Regions from separate parts of the Homo sapiens genome. Here all the other regions are linked to region 1. The links are contacts of gene promoters, found by promoter capture Hi-C in blood cells and fetal thymus (Javierre and others, 2016). All regions are on one chromosome and are shown on one strand. The core of a region is centred on a gene start or on the middle of the fragment in contact, and the rest is flanking DNA. Distances in the headings are between cores, read along the strand shown.

Region 1 (4,388 bases), core at 927-3,426:
TACCCATGAAAATCCCAGAAGAGCTGACACCAACAGCCCAACACAGCCAGGTTTTTTCTTCCAGATTGGGACTTACAGTACCAATCAAAGAAGGTGGCTTTCATTTAGGAACCATGTGGTTCAAAACTACAAGTGTTTTTAAACATTAGAATCACACTCAGCATACTAAGATATCACACAAGATAACTGAGATTTAGGCAAAGCCGATTTGCCTCTCCTTCTCACTCTCATTCTGTGGTGTATATTCATTGAATGGAATAGCAGGTGGAGATTCTCTTACTATTTAAAGTGTTCTCTTGCTCACCGGGCACACTGGCACATGCCTGTAATCCCAGCACTTTGGGAGGCCAAGGTGGACCTCCCACTTGAGGTCAGGAGTTTGAGACCAGCCTGGCCAACGTGGTGAAACCCCATCTCTACTAAAAATACAAAAATTAGCCAGATGTGGTGGTGCATGCCTGTAATCCCAGCTACTTGGGAGGCTGAGGCAGGAAAGTCACTTGAACCTGGGAGGCAGAGGTTGCAGTGAGCCAACATTGTGCCACTGCACTCCAGCCTGGGCAATAGAGACTCCATCTCAAAAAATAATAATAATAATAATAATAATAGTACAGTGTTCCCTTGCTCAATACATAGTTGGGTTTGCTTAAGTTAAACAAGCATATAATGTAATTCCTTATTTGAGATTTTGTGTTTGCATTTTTAAATTAATAAGACATTTGTGATAAATTTTGGAGAAGCTTCTTTTACACTTTAAGACATCTAGTTTAGCCAAGACCATATTGAACCTGCCCATAGTCCATTGACAAGAGAAATGAAAATCCTCTTTCAGGAGGTAGCTGCAAAAGAATATGAATGCTTCTTTGGGCCCTCTATGTAAAACATGGCAACAAAAGGACTCAAGCCAGATCTTCTATCTCCATCCATCTCAGAAAGAATAATTCATAATGAGCGAAAAACAGCAAAATTGTGTCACTAAAATGACCTGAGACTTGGAATTAGGCAAAAGAAAATTCTAAGTGTTCTTTCAGTGCAGTACAGGGCATGATTTCTATGGACTATGTTATTTTACAATACTGTAGGAATACACCAGGCACAGTGGTTCGTGCCTGTAATCCCAGAAATTTGGGAGCCTGAGGCAGGAGGATCCCTTGATCCCAGGAAGGACCAACCTGGGCAACACAGTGAGACTCTGAGAGACAAGCGCTGGACACAGGAGCAGGCCACATGGGATGGTCTGGACAGGCTCTGCAGCACAGCAGCCTTCATGAGAAACAGGCAGAAGGGCCCGGGCATGAGAAGCTACTGCAAACAAAAAGCAGCAGCAGCTATAAAGGGCTTGTTCCCAAGCAACATGAATCATCTCTGAACTGGTCTGGTCCAATCCCTATAGTCTAACTAGCAAATATATTTTTTAAAATATTAGCAAACACACACACTAAAAACAGATTTTCATCTTTGCCAAGTGTGTGTTTTTTTCCTACACCAACCTATTATCCAATTCTCCTACAACAACTGAGTATCCTATAATTCAGTTCAACTCTGAGACTCAGTGGCGGGCAGACTCCACAGGCTTAAGGGCACAGTCCCATAGGATTGCCCTCACTTCTGATGCCAGTCACAAGCATCAGATCTCCAGGCTACCCACATTTGCATCTGACTTGGCTACAAAGTCAGGCTTCCCACACCCCACCCCTTGCCAGGGTTCAATAATTTGCTAGAATGACTCATAGAACTCAGGGGCCACTTTACTTACATTTACCGATTTATTATAAAGGATACAAATGAAGAGCCAAAGGAACAGGCCCAGAAGATGAGGTCCGGGAGGGTCCGGAGCACAGGGCTTCTGTCCCCATGGAGTTGGGATACACCATCCTCCCAGTATGTGAACGTGTTCACCAACTCAGAACCTCATTGTTTAAAGGTTTTTATGGAGCTTTTATTACATAGGGATGATTGATGGAATCATTGGTCATTGGTGACTAAATTCAATCTCCAGCCCCTCTCCCTTCCCCATATGAGGAGGGGGTGGAGCTGAAACTTCTGAGCTTTATCAGAACTTGATCAGAACTAGCTCCCATCTTAAAGTGATCTAGGGGACCCTGCCAAGAGTCACCTCATTAGCACAAACACAGATTGCTGAAAGGGGTGCATAATGAATAACAAAAGATGCTCCTATTGCTCAGGAAATTTCAAAGGTTTCAGGAGCTTTGCGCCAAGGACAAAGAACAAATTTTTTTTCCTATTATATATTCCAATGAATCCAGACAAGTTCATCAGAAAGTCAAACATATTGGTTGTCACAGTATATCTAAATAAGTTATATTTTTCTATGAAATGACAAAGATCATCATATTTGATCTAACCATATACTGTCCACAAGAGGCACATCTAAAACAAAAATAAATAAATAAAAATAAAAAATAAAAAGATAGAAAAAGATATAGTATACAAAAAGAATTAAAGTCCTAAACTATTAAAATAAAGGATAAGTAGTAAAAATCAAGATCTGCAATGAAGATGTGTTTGTCATAAATCTTTAGTTTCTGAATAAGAGGAAAATGACCAAAACACAATTGCTGTGGAGATTTCATCAGTTCTTAACAGATCAAGTAAACAAACAAAAGATGTAGAATGTCAGAAAAAAGTCATTGCTGGGATCCACTTTGTAAATATTGAAAAAAAAAACAAAAAAAATCTTTTTCAGGGTCTATGGAACAATTTTTTAAAATTGATTACATATTAAACCACTAAAAACCTTAAATAAATTTCAAGCCCAGAAATTTCATGACTACATTGCATACCACAATACAGTAAAACCAGAAATTGAAAAAATGTGTAAACAAAAATCGTCCAACTACTTGGTTTGAAAACACTCTTCAAAATAATCCACGGATCAAACAGGAAACGAAAACTGCAATTTACAGAACTCTTGGGCAATAATGATAATGAAAATACCACATATCAACATCAAGAGAAGACATCCACATCTGTAATCAGAAGTGTAAAATCAACTTTAGCCTAAAGCTGCAGACTTACTTATTTTAAGTTCGGTCTAAAGGCTTCTCAGTACATCGTGAACTGTAACCTACCTGGATGTATAAACAGACTGTAGCCTACTTTTGTGCCAATCAAGTTTGGGCCAATCACAGGCTGCCAACCATTCAAACTGTGTTCAAATAAGCTAAATGCCTGAGCTGTAACCAATCCAGCTGTTTCTGTGCCTCACTTCTGTTTCCTGTAAGTCACTTTTCTTTTCCTGTTCGTAAATATTGCTCCACCACACAGCAGCGCCATAGTCACTCTGATCCTATTCTAGTTTGGGAAGCTGCCTGATTCACAAGTCATTATTTGCCCAGTTAAGCTCTGCTAATGTTAATTTCTCTAAAGTTTATCTTTTAACAGAAGTGACTTCAAAGGGTTTGAGGAAAATGGTAATGAACATTTGTTGAGCAATTACTGTCTGCCAGACACTGTGCTAAGCACTTTTACAAGTGGTTTCTCAATGATTCCCCATAACTAACCTGAATTGCTTTAATTATCAAATAAGAAAGAATGAGAATATATGAAGTAAGCATATAACTCAAGATGTCAAAAAGAGGGATGTTAAATTAAGCTTTAGAAACAGAATAAAGTAATAAAGTTAAGAGATGAAACTCATGAGAAACCTGTGAAGGAACAGAATTGATCAATCAGCCCCAGCAGGTGTACATAGCAGAAGCTGTCATGCTTCTCCCATATGCTCAGAGCCACATCACTTCAGTGTCTTCCAAAAGAATTCCAATGCCAGTGTCTGCATTCCTTTGCCTACCAGCCTTTTCTGAGACTGTAAGCAGCCTTTCTGCCTGTGCCTGAGACAGGCTATAAGTGCCAGGGAATTAACACCCTGACACCACCCACCGCCACACACAGTAACCTTCAACTGGTGACTGTCAGGAGTTGTATATAAATAACTCCCCTCTGCCACCTCAGGAGTGGAACCCCTCTGAGGCATGCTTTTACTCCCCAGATATTCCCACCACATCCCAGTGCCTACAGAGGCAGATGGCTGGATAATTCCTCCTCTATGGGCCACATTTCTACCCCTGTGTCTCCTCCCTGCTCCCCACCAGGATTTTCCTGCACCAACCAAAAAACAACTTGAACTCAAATCCTTTTCTCAGAGGGAAACCCAAGCCATATACTGAATAAACATTAAAAAAAAAAATCAGCCGGACGCGGTGGCTCATGCCTGTAATTCCAGCACTTTGGGAGGCAGAGGCGGGTGGATCACCTGAGGTCAGGAGTTTGAGACCAGCCTGACCAACATGAAAAAACCCCATCTCTAGTAAAAATACAAAATTAGCTGGGCATGGTAGCGCATGCCTGTAATCCCAGCTACTCAGGAG
Region 2 (4,388 bases), core at 624-3,123, 160 kb before region 1:
GCCTGCTGTCCTCCCACTCCTACTTAAAACATGCAACAGCCCCTCTCTTCAAGCAGTGCTTCCGGAGCGGTCCCCCAGTCCACCAGCCACAGACTCACGCTGAGTGGGGTGCTTGTTACAACCACAGATTCCTGGGCCCTAGCTCACCCTGATGGCATCTCTGAGAATCCAAGTGCTGAACACAGTTGAGAGCCACTAGTCTCCAGAAGAACTTAACCCAGTTTTCAAGGCCTCCACAATCTGCCCCCAACCTCCTTTTCCATTCTTCCCACCCAGCCCTAAAGGATTCCTGTCTGCTGTCCCTTGTCCTCTGTGGAGCCTACTTGGTATTTTCCCACAGCCACATCCCTGCACGCTCTGCTCTCCCCTCCTGCCCAGAGCCCACCCCCAACCTCTGGCTCTCTCCTTTCCTCATATTATCTAAACCATGCCCATCTTCAAGGCACAGCTCAAATTCCACCTTCTCAAGAAGCGTCCCCTGCCCAGATCCGCGAAGCCCTCTTTCCCACCCACTTCTGAGGACTGACTACCTGTTTGCACAAAGTGGTGTCTGTCTGCAGATAACCCTTCACTTTCCTTGGTGTACCTATCTCTACATTTTGGTTGTGAGTACCTGGAGGGCAAAAACCTTATCCCAAAATCCTCCTGCTCACCACCCACCCCCACCCCATCCTATATGCCTAGTTCCTGGCTGAGTCCAAAGCTCAGTGTCCAGTTTGATTGACAGGCGAGAGGCTGTGCAGGACCAGATACGATGAGCCACACTCCAGACTAGCAGGAATTTTCCTCAGGGGCAACACGTCCTCTAAAAACCTTCACTGGCAAGAAACCAAGAAACTTGAAGTGAGAAGAGAAACAGGATGAGGAGGGGATAACTGTGGCAAAATAGACCACACTTCAAAGGCTGAGGTTCAAGTTCCAGCTCTGCCTCTCTGTGAGCTCTGCAAGGGGCCTAACCTCACTCTGGTTTTCACATTTTCCCATTTCTAACCAGGTAACAAGATGATCCTCTCAGAGGAGAGTTGCAAGGCTTACATAAAGCCAGATGTGTAGCCATGTCTAGAATGTACTCACTCACTTAACAAATACTCATGAAACATCTGTAATGTGCCAAGCACTGAGGGCAACACAGAAGGGAACAAAAGACTGGCTAAACAGTCTGTGAAAACCAGAAAACTGTCATCAACAACACAGCAAGAGTAAAGAGGGAGGTGTGGGCATGCACAGGACACAAGGAGAGGGCCTCTCACCTGCCTGTGGTCAGGAAGCCTGGAAGGATGTCCTCGCCGACTGCACAGCCATGTTCTGTTTGCAAGGATAGAGGGAGCAGCATGCCTAGTCGGGGTGGTGGGGAAAGTACAACACAGGGAAGTGTGAAATCAGTAGTTCTGAGAAGGAGGCCTTCTGGCTTGGGATGGCTGGAGGGCAGAATGACTGTGGGCGACCAGCCTGGAGAAGAAGGCCTGACTCAGGAGGGCCTGCATGCAGAGCAGAGTTAGTCCTCATCCTCAGGTCCACGGGAGGCCACAGAAGCATTTTAAGCTAGAATGAGGATGACAGATAGTAGTGAGGCAGGCTGAGATGCAGGAAGGCCAGCGAGATCCAGCAAGGAGGATGTGGCTTGTGTGGGGGCTGTTGTCGCCACGTGTTAGCCAACCATGTGCATGTGAAAGAGGCTGACTTACAAGAATCTGCTCCTGTAAGCCCAGAGAGGCCCAGGGACAACTTCCACTTTATTCTGGATGTTTTCACTTTTGGGACATCCTGTTCTGAGTCAAGATTCCTCCTTCTGAACATGGGACTTTCCAGAAGGACCACAGCTCCTCCCGTGCATCCACTCGGCCTGGGAGGTTCTGGATTTTGGCTGTCGAGGGAGTTTGCCTGCCTCTCCAGAGAAAGATGGTCATGAGGCCCCTGTGGAGTCTGCTTCTCTGGGAAGGTAAGTGGGGCAGGCAGATAGCCTGTCCTCGGAGAGCTGAAGGCCCCTCCCCAGCTGCCTATGCCAGACGTCTGGGCAGGGATCCCTCGACCTGGGTGAGAACCCAGAAGCTGAGGGTGGGTAGGAAAGACTAGAACAAGCTCTTGGGCAACATTTTAAGCTAGGCAGATACAAAGAGATGCAGGGTCCTGGGAGGGAGGAGGTGGCAGCTTGAGGGGTATTCTTATCTGTGAGACATGAGCTGTTTTGTGGCCCAGAGCAGTAAAAACGGAGCCAGTGGGTGATACTGCTGGTTTGGAGAGAAAGTCGGCTGTGAGAATGGTGAGGACCCGGCAGTGTTAGCATGCAGAAACTCTGCAGAGTTTGAGGAGAGTAGCAGAGGGCAGGGCAGAGCAGGGTTCCCCACAATCAGCAGAGTGTGTTTTCAACAGCCTGTGGGGGAGCTGAGGTCCCTCCCTACAGGCCTTTATAAGGGGAGGCAAGTACTAAGTAGGGATGAGAGAGGCTAAATGTGGCCCACGTGGACTTAGGGGTGGCCGACGGTGGTGTGATGTTGGGATGGCTGATACACGGGGTCTCCTCCACACCGGGCGATCCCTCTATCCATCTGATGCCTGAGTTCCCTTCCTTGGTCAACAAGCAGCCAACATGACATGGGTCAACACTGCCGGGCCATGGATGAGGGTTTATGGGGTGCAGCAAAGATTAAGATGATATTGTTTACATCAGAGGCTCATAGGGACTTTGGGTTGCTTTGTTTCATCTCCTTGCCTGAGTTCCTGGCCCTGAGAGCTCCAAAGCCTGCAGATTTCTTCAATATTTCTAAACATGTGCAGGAAATCACACCTTAACCTCAAAAAAGGCCTTGGTCTGTTTGGTGAGACAAAAATAATTTGCCTTTTTTTTTTTTCTTTGAGACGGAGTCTTGCTCTGTCACCCAGGCTGGAATGCAATGGTGCATCTCAGCTCACTGTAACCTCTGCCTCCTGGGTTCAAGCGATTCTCCTGTCTCAGCCTCCTGAGTAGCTGGGATTACAGGTCACTGCCACTAAACCCGGCTAATGTTTGTATTTTTAGTAGAGACAGGGTTTCATCATGTTGACCAGGCTGGTCTCAAACTCCTGACCTCAAGTGATCCGCCCTCCTCAGCCTCCCAAAGTGCTGGAATTACAGGCATGAGCCACCACACCCAGCCCAAAAATAATTTTTCAAATGGCCCTTAATGATCAAAGATCTGTGTGACTGACCTGGTACAGACCCCTTATTTTTCAGTGGTACTGAAGCCTGGGGCAGGGTGATGTGTGGAAGGGCACACAGCTGATCTGTGGCAGCACCAGGAGGAGCAGGTAGGAGCAGCTAGGTCTTGGCTGACATCCAGTGCAATTCTCTTTGTGTGTTACATTCCTGCTCTGCATTAACACTGAAGTCATCTCCAGTGTGAGAGGAGGTTGTTGGGCCTGGAGGACAGTGAGGCAGAGGGGGACCGGAATTATCATGGCCGACTGAGCAACCATCCAGATCATGTCTCATTGACCAAAACTTCATCACCTCTTATTCTTCCCTACACCCTGTGCCAGCGACAGGCATAGGGTCAGTCCTCAGCAGGGTAGGTCATTTATTCAATACCATTTACTAGGCTTCTCCCACAGTCTGTTCTTAAACAGTGGTGGGCACTGGAAGCAAACGATGGGGAGAAAGAGCTCACGGTCTAGTGGGAGATGCTGACTCATAAACAGGCAATAAGAATAGAGGGATAAGGGTAGTCAGCATGGTGGCCCCAGGCCACTGTGAGAACACAAGAGAGAATATGTAACCTCTCTTGGTTACATTACCTATGAGGGATAGGGGAGGTCGGAGGAGGCAGTGATGCTACAAGAGTGGGCAGAAATTAGTCAGCAAAGGAGTCAGGGGGGCACTTCAAGGAGAAGCGTCTCCCATACACGTCTGACTCAAATATAGTCCCCCAAAACAGCATCTTGCTTTCTCACCCCCTGTCTGTTTCTCCTCCTGTTCTGGATCACAGAGAATAACATCCAGTGGATCCCAAGGACCTGGGAGCCGTCCTCGACTCCTTTTTCTCCTTCACTCCCCAGAGCTAATCTATTACCAAATCCTACTGATTACACACCATCTTCGTGTTTCTCAATTCCTCCCACTTCTTCCCATCCCGGTTGCTCCCTTCCTCAATTCAAGTTGCCGTCACTTCTCCACTGGACTAACATGAACAGCCTAAGTCCTGCCCACCTCCAGTGCATTCTCCACATCCCTGCTGGAGTGATCTTTCTAACCATGCATCTAATCCTGTTACGCTCCTGCTTAAAACCTACCTGAGACGCCCCATTGCTCTACAGATAAAGCCCAAACTCCAGTATTGCTTTCAGGTCTCTGCATGATCTGACTCCTACCAACTCTGCAGTGTAATTTCCTACTCCTCACACAGAGAACTACT
Region 3 (4,388 bases), core at 1,244-3,743, 130 kb before region 1:
CCATGTTTACACATAGAGATCTCACACATGCACACACACAATTACACCATCACAGGCAAACAAATCGGCACGTGGCCCACTCTTACAAGGCTTCAAAATGCAGATACATACCTATATGGCCCCACCTTCCTACAAACACAGACACTATATAGATTCATTCAGACACAGACACAATCTGCACACAAACACAGAACATATTAATTCAAAAGACACACCCACCGTGTGTTCATATAGTCCCTGTATGTGTTCATTCAAGACCAGACATATCTATGGAAGCCCTGCCAGGAAGGCTTAGCCTGGCTCCAGAGAGGCCAGCAAGGGCCCTTTCAACACCCTCAACAGCTCAGGGATCCCTGAACATCCCCCCTAGGAACACTGGCTGGGCCATCAGCTCTGTCATAACCCAGCTAGACTCCAAGGTGACCCAGAGCAGGCAGGCTGACTGCTGGGGCTCTAACGGGACCTAGTGATGCCTCTTCCAGCTCCAGGCCAAGAGAACAACAGCTCATTCCTGAGATAAGGATCCTGCTGCCATCTGCCAGATCCTGAGGCTGCTCAAGGCAAGCCAGGGATGAGCCAGAACTCGGCTGAGAGCAGAGGCTCCACCCTGGAGAAGCACCGCTGGAAGCACCCACACAGGAAGGACTCTCTCCATGCCATAGGAGCCTGCCAGGCAGGATGGTAAGCATTCAGGGAGAGGGGCTTGGGAAGGAGCGACAGGCTGCAAGAAAAGCACCTCCACCCTGCACCAGGCTGAGAGATTCTTCAATTGTCCCAGACCAGGGAGCCTCACCCAGCTTTTCTATCTCCTTAGAAGTCTTCTCAACCTCCTCCCAAGGGTTCCAGCCTTTCCGCACCCCTCCCTCTCCTTGGGAAGTTGCTCCTAATGTCTCACCTTGATTCCTCTTGCTGTAGCACTAAGGAAGTACTACAGGGAATGTGAGAGGAGAGGCTGGAGAGAGGGAAGAAAGGCAAAGTGGAAGAGAGAGCTGGATGGGAGACTTGAGGAGAGACAGGAATGGAGGAATCACATGGGCTCTCCAAGGAAGAGGACAGTGGTGATTCTTTGCCCCCCAAAAGCACCAGAAACTGGCCATGCTTTACGGGGTGTCATCTCAATAGTGGTGCCTACTCTCTGCTTGCAAATTCTTTCTGAATCTTCAAGGTGCTTCCAGAACTCCTGATCTTCCCTCTGGAGGTAAGGGAGGGGAGAAAAGGCGGCTCCAGCTGAGGGTATTGATGCGTTAATGCAGCCAGTGCTGAGTTGTCCTCACACACCCATTGACACACCACACAGGGGGAAGTCCGGGTCCCCACAGCACAGCTGGAGCCTCCCGAGTGGACTCTGCCAGCCCTGCTCTCATCAGACAGAGAAGGGCTGCAGCTATCCTGCCGGAAATGTCATCATTCCCATGCAGGTGCACGCACCCACACACTCACATACACATTCACGCTCACACAAAGGCTGAAAATGTCACCCCGCCTTCCCAAATTCCTCCTTCATGCCCCTTCATCCCAAATCCAGACTGCAAGAGGGACTCGGAGCCCTTTCCAGTGATGTTGGCATAGAATGCCCCTTGGTGGAACTTGCCCCAACCTGGGCAGGAAGCCACAATGTCCAAACTTGAGCCCTGCCCTGTGGACCTGTCCTGGTGGGGTGAGAAGTCTCTGGAGTTGCCATCCCCACCACCCTCAGGCCTCATCCTAGAGTGGGGCACTGCCCTGTCATAGCACAGGGGGCCCAAGGCTGAGGTCTCAGGCCTGAGCTGTCACTGGCCATGATGGAAGAAACCACTCAGACTTACACCAGACTTAGTCTCTTGCCCTTTCAAGGCAAGTGACTTCCCTGCCCCTTGGCCCTGGCCTTGGGAGAGAAGGAGTAGCGTTGGGAATAGCACACAGTCTGATGAAAATTGATCCTTCCCAAGCTCCTCCTGAGCCCTCACCCAATGCCCGTGCTTACCCCTCTCCTACCCCACCTCCAGCTCCTGCAGAGCAATCAATCCCTCTCCTCCTAGTCACGGCATGAGCTTGCAGGGCACCTGCACACATGTGTGAGCCCGACAGGGGACATATAAAGATCCACTCAAAGACCTCTGCACTACAGACACACACCCTGAACATCAGGCACAGGGTCTCCTGGGGAAAGGTCCCCTGGTAATACCCACACCCGGCTGCAGCAGGGCAAGGGTGGGCAGCACCCTGCCAGGCAACTCAGGCAGCCCCAGGCTCCACTGTGAGCCCTTGCTGCCCCTTTCCTTCCCACCTAGCCTCATGCTGGCTACCCTGCCCCCTGCCCAGCCCCGTACCTGGGCTCAGGCACACGAGTAGAAGGTGGAATGCTCCTCCAACTCTCATGTCTCTAGGCTCGGTGTTTCCTCCGTCTGGGCTGGGTATCCCGTGGGGTCGTAGTGGTGGGTGTGAGGGGGTAGGTGGAGGGAGGGGGAGCTGAGGGCCCAGACACTGCCTGGGGTGGCAGGAAGGTGCAATGAGTGCCCAGCTGGGGAGCAGCTGGAGTTATTTCTATGGGAGGGAGGGGGCCTGGTCCCCGCCTTGGGGAGGAGTCCCAGGAACCCTAATTAGCAGGGTGACAGGGTGGCCTACCTGGGCATTACCCAGCCCTCACCCAAGCTCTTCCCTGTCCTAAGAGTGGCACAGGACAGCCAGCGGGACTTGTAATTAGGCACCTGTTAAACTTCACTTCCTCCTGGCCACATCCTCAGGGTGACAACAGTCACCTCATTTACAGCTTCCAAGGGCTCCCCTCACCACTCATTTGCTGCCTCCTTCCCTGGGGGAAGTGGGGAAGAGGAAGGAGAAGCCAGGCTTGGGAGAAAGAGTGGCCAGGACCTGAAGAGTTAATCCTGATCCCAGGGCATAGGGTTCCCCAGGAGTGTCCAGCCCACCTTCCCCCAGGCTTCAGGCCTTTCAAAGGGACTCAGGCCTCCTGAGCTGAAAGAGGAGAGAAGGGGTGTGTGCAGGAACAGAGTCTCCTCCTGGCTGTCCCCTCTGGAACTGTCCTCCACACCCATACTCGACTCAAGGCCATCCCCAAGTGTAGGGGACCCCTGGGAGCAGGGGTGCTATGGGGGGTCCAGGGTGTGTGCTAGGAGTAAGGTGACTGATGGGCTAGTGAGGGAGTGTTGGAGAGAACAGCGCCAAGAGGACCAGGGAAGGGGGTGCCTGTGTAAGCGTGTGCACCCCTCAGCAATGTCTGTGGGAGGGAGGCAGGATGTCTGTGTCAGGGTGTCTCTGTGAGGATGGCTAAGCCCCTCTGAGTGAACTTCTTGAGGGATCGCTTGGTGTCCTGGCTTCTCTGCCCAGAAAGAGTAGCCAGGTCTTGAGGGTTAATGCAGTCCCAGTATTAACTGGGTCCTTGAGACCAAGGACCCTCATAACCTGGACTGGTCATCGGGCTGACTAAACCAGCACAGTTCTGGGTAAGTTCGTGCTGGGGTGGGGAGGGTCCTGGTAGGCATGGGGAGCAAGTGAAGGGCCACCCCTTGTTGGCTTGTCTAAGGGGGACAGAATGGGCATGTGCCTTGTTGGACTCCATGGTGGGAGTCAGGACATGAGTGACCCCATTCAATAGCTCAACTCCCTCAAAGGAGTCAGGGACTGCCCCCATCCCTACCATGGGGCACAGAAAGGGCAGAGGAGGAAGAGTGTTAGGGAGAGTTATGGGGCTCAGGGATGCTGCCAGGGCCCACCCCTCTGGGGAAAAATAAGTCAGAACATTAAGGAAACACAAGGAGTCCACGCGTCTCTGCATTCCAAGCCGTTGCACCTGAACTCCCAACAATAACAGGGCGCTCTGAGACCTACCAGATGTACACAATGAATATCTTTATTTCCTTATTTATTTTTAGGTTTATGGGATTGTCCTGCTCCCTTTGAAGAGCAGGGATCATTATCCCCATTTTACAGATGGGGAAACAGAGACCTGGAGAAACATGGGGATTCAGCCAATGCGGCTGGTGCCTAAGCTGGGATACCCAGGTACCCAGGGTGTCAGTCCAGAGAGGTCCAAAAAATGGTCTTGGTGATCCTGTGGATTACTAGACCCACTCACGAACAAGAACCATGGAAGGTCAGGGTGAGTGGGAGGGAAAACAGGTCAGACCACGAACAGAGAGATTGAGGAGAAAGCAGTAACATTGTGGTTCCACTAAACTACAGTGCAGGCTTCAGATTTAATTGGGTTCTGGATGTGGGCTAATGTTAGAGCTGGGGTTAAGTTTGGGGTTAGTTGAATTATGAATGAGGTTGAGGTCAGATTTGAGGTTGGGATTAGAGTTAAGGTTGGGATTAGGGTTAGAAATACAGCTAGAATTGAGGCTCAGGTTTATGGCTGGGATTTGTGTTACGATAAGGAATAGAGTTTTAGT

What was found. Contacts are between HindIII fragments. The CHiCAGO score rates a contact against its expected background, and 5 or more counts as called.
Region 2: the fragment with the promoter of SLAMF8 here is called in contact with a fragment that was not itself captured in region 1 in 2 of 17 cell types (total B cells and naive B cells); the score reaches 7.7 in total B cells.
Region 3: a contact is called between the fragment with the promoter of VSIG8 here and a fragment that was not itself captured in region 1, in 1 of 17 cell types (total B cells). The highest score is 6.0, in total B cells.

The regions. Positions count from the first base shown.
Region 1 is chr1:159,988,510-159,992,897 of GRCh38, forward strand. No RefSeq gene overlaps it. Among named protein-coding and RNA genes, the nearest start is that of LINC01133, 29 kb to the left of the region's middle. The HindIII fragment of the contact is 2,876 bases long and covers 739-3,614 here.
Region 2 is chr1:159,825,000-159,829,387 of GRCh38, forward strand. SLAMF8 (SLAM family member 8) reads left to right here and starts at 1,874. Exons shown (of 5, transcript NM_020125.3): 1 at 1,874-1,939. The coding sequence starts at 1,900. The HindIII fragment of the contact is 24,464 bases long and covers 1-4,388 here.
Region 3 is chr1:159,860,164-159,864,551 of GRCh38, forward strand. It overlaps VSIG8 (V-set and immunoglobulin domain containing 8), which reads right to left and starts at 2,494. Exons shown (of 7, transcript NM_001013661.1): 1 at 2,310-2,494. The coding sequence starts at 2,358. LOC107985216 (a long non-coding RNA gene) reads left to right here. Exons shown (of 2, transcript XR_001738263.2): 2 at 483-4,388. RefSeq lists enhancers at 995-1,909, 1,910-2,822. The HindIII fragment of the contact is 16,901 bases long and covers 1-4,388 here.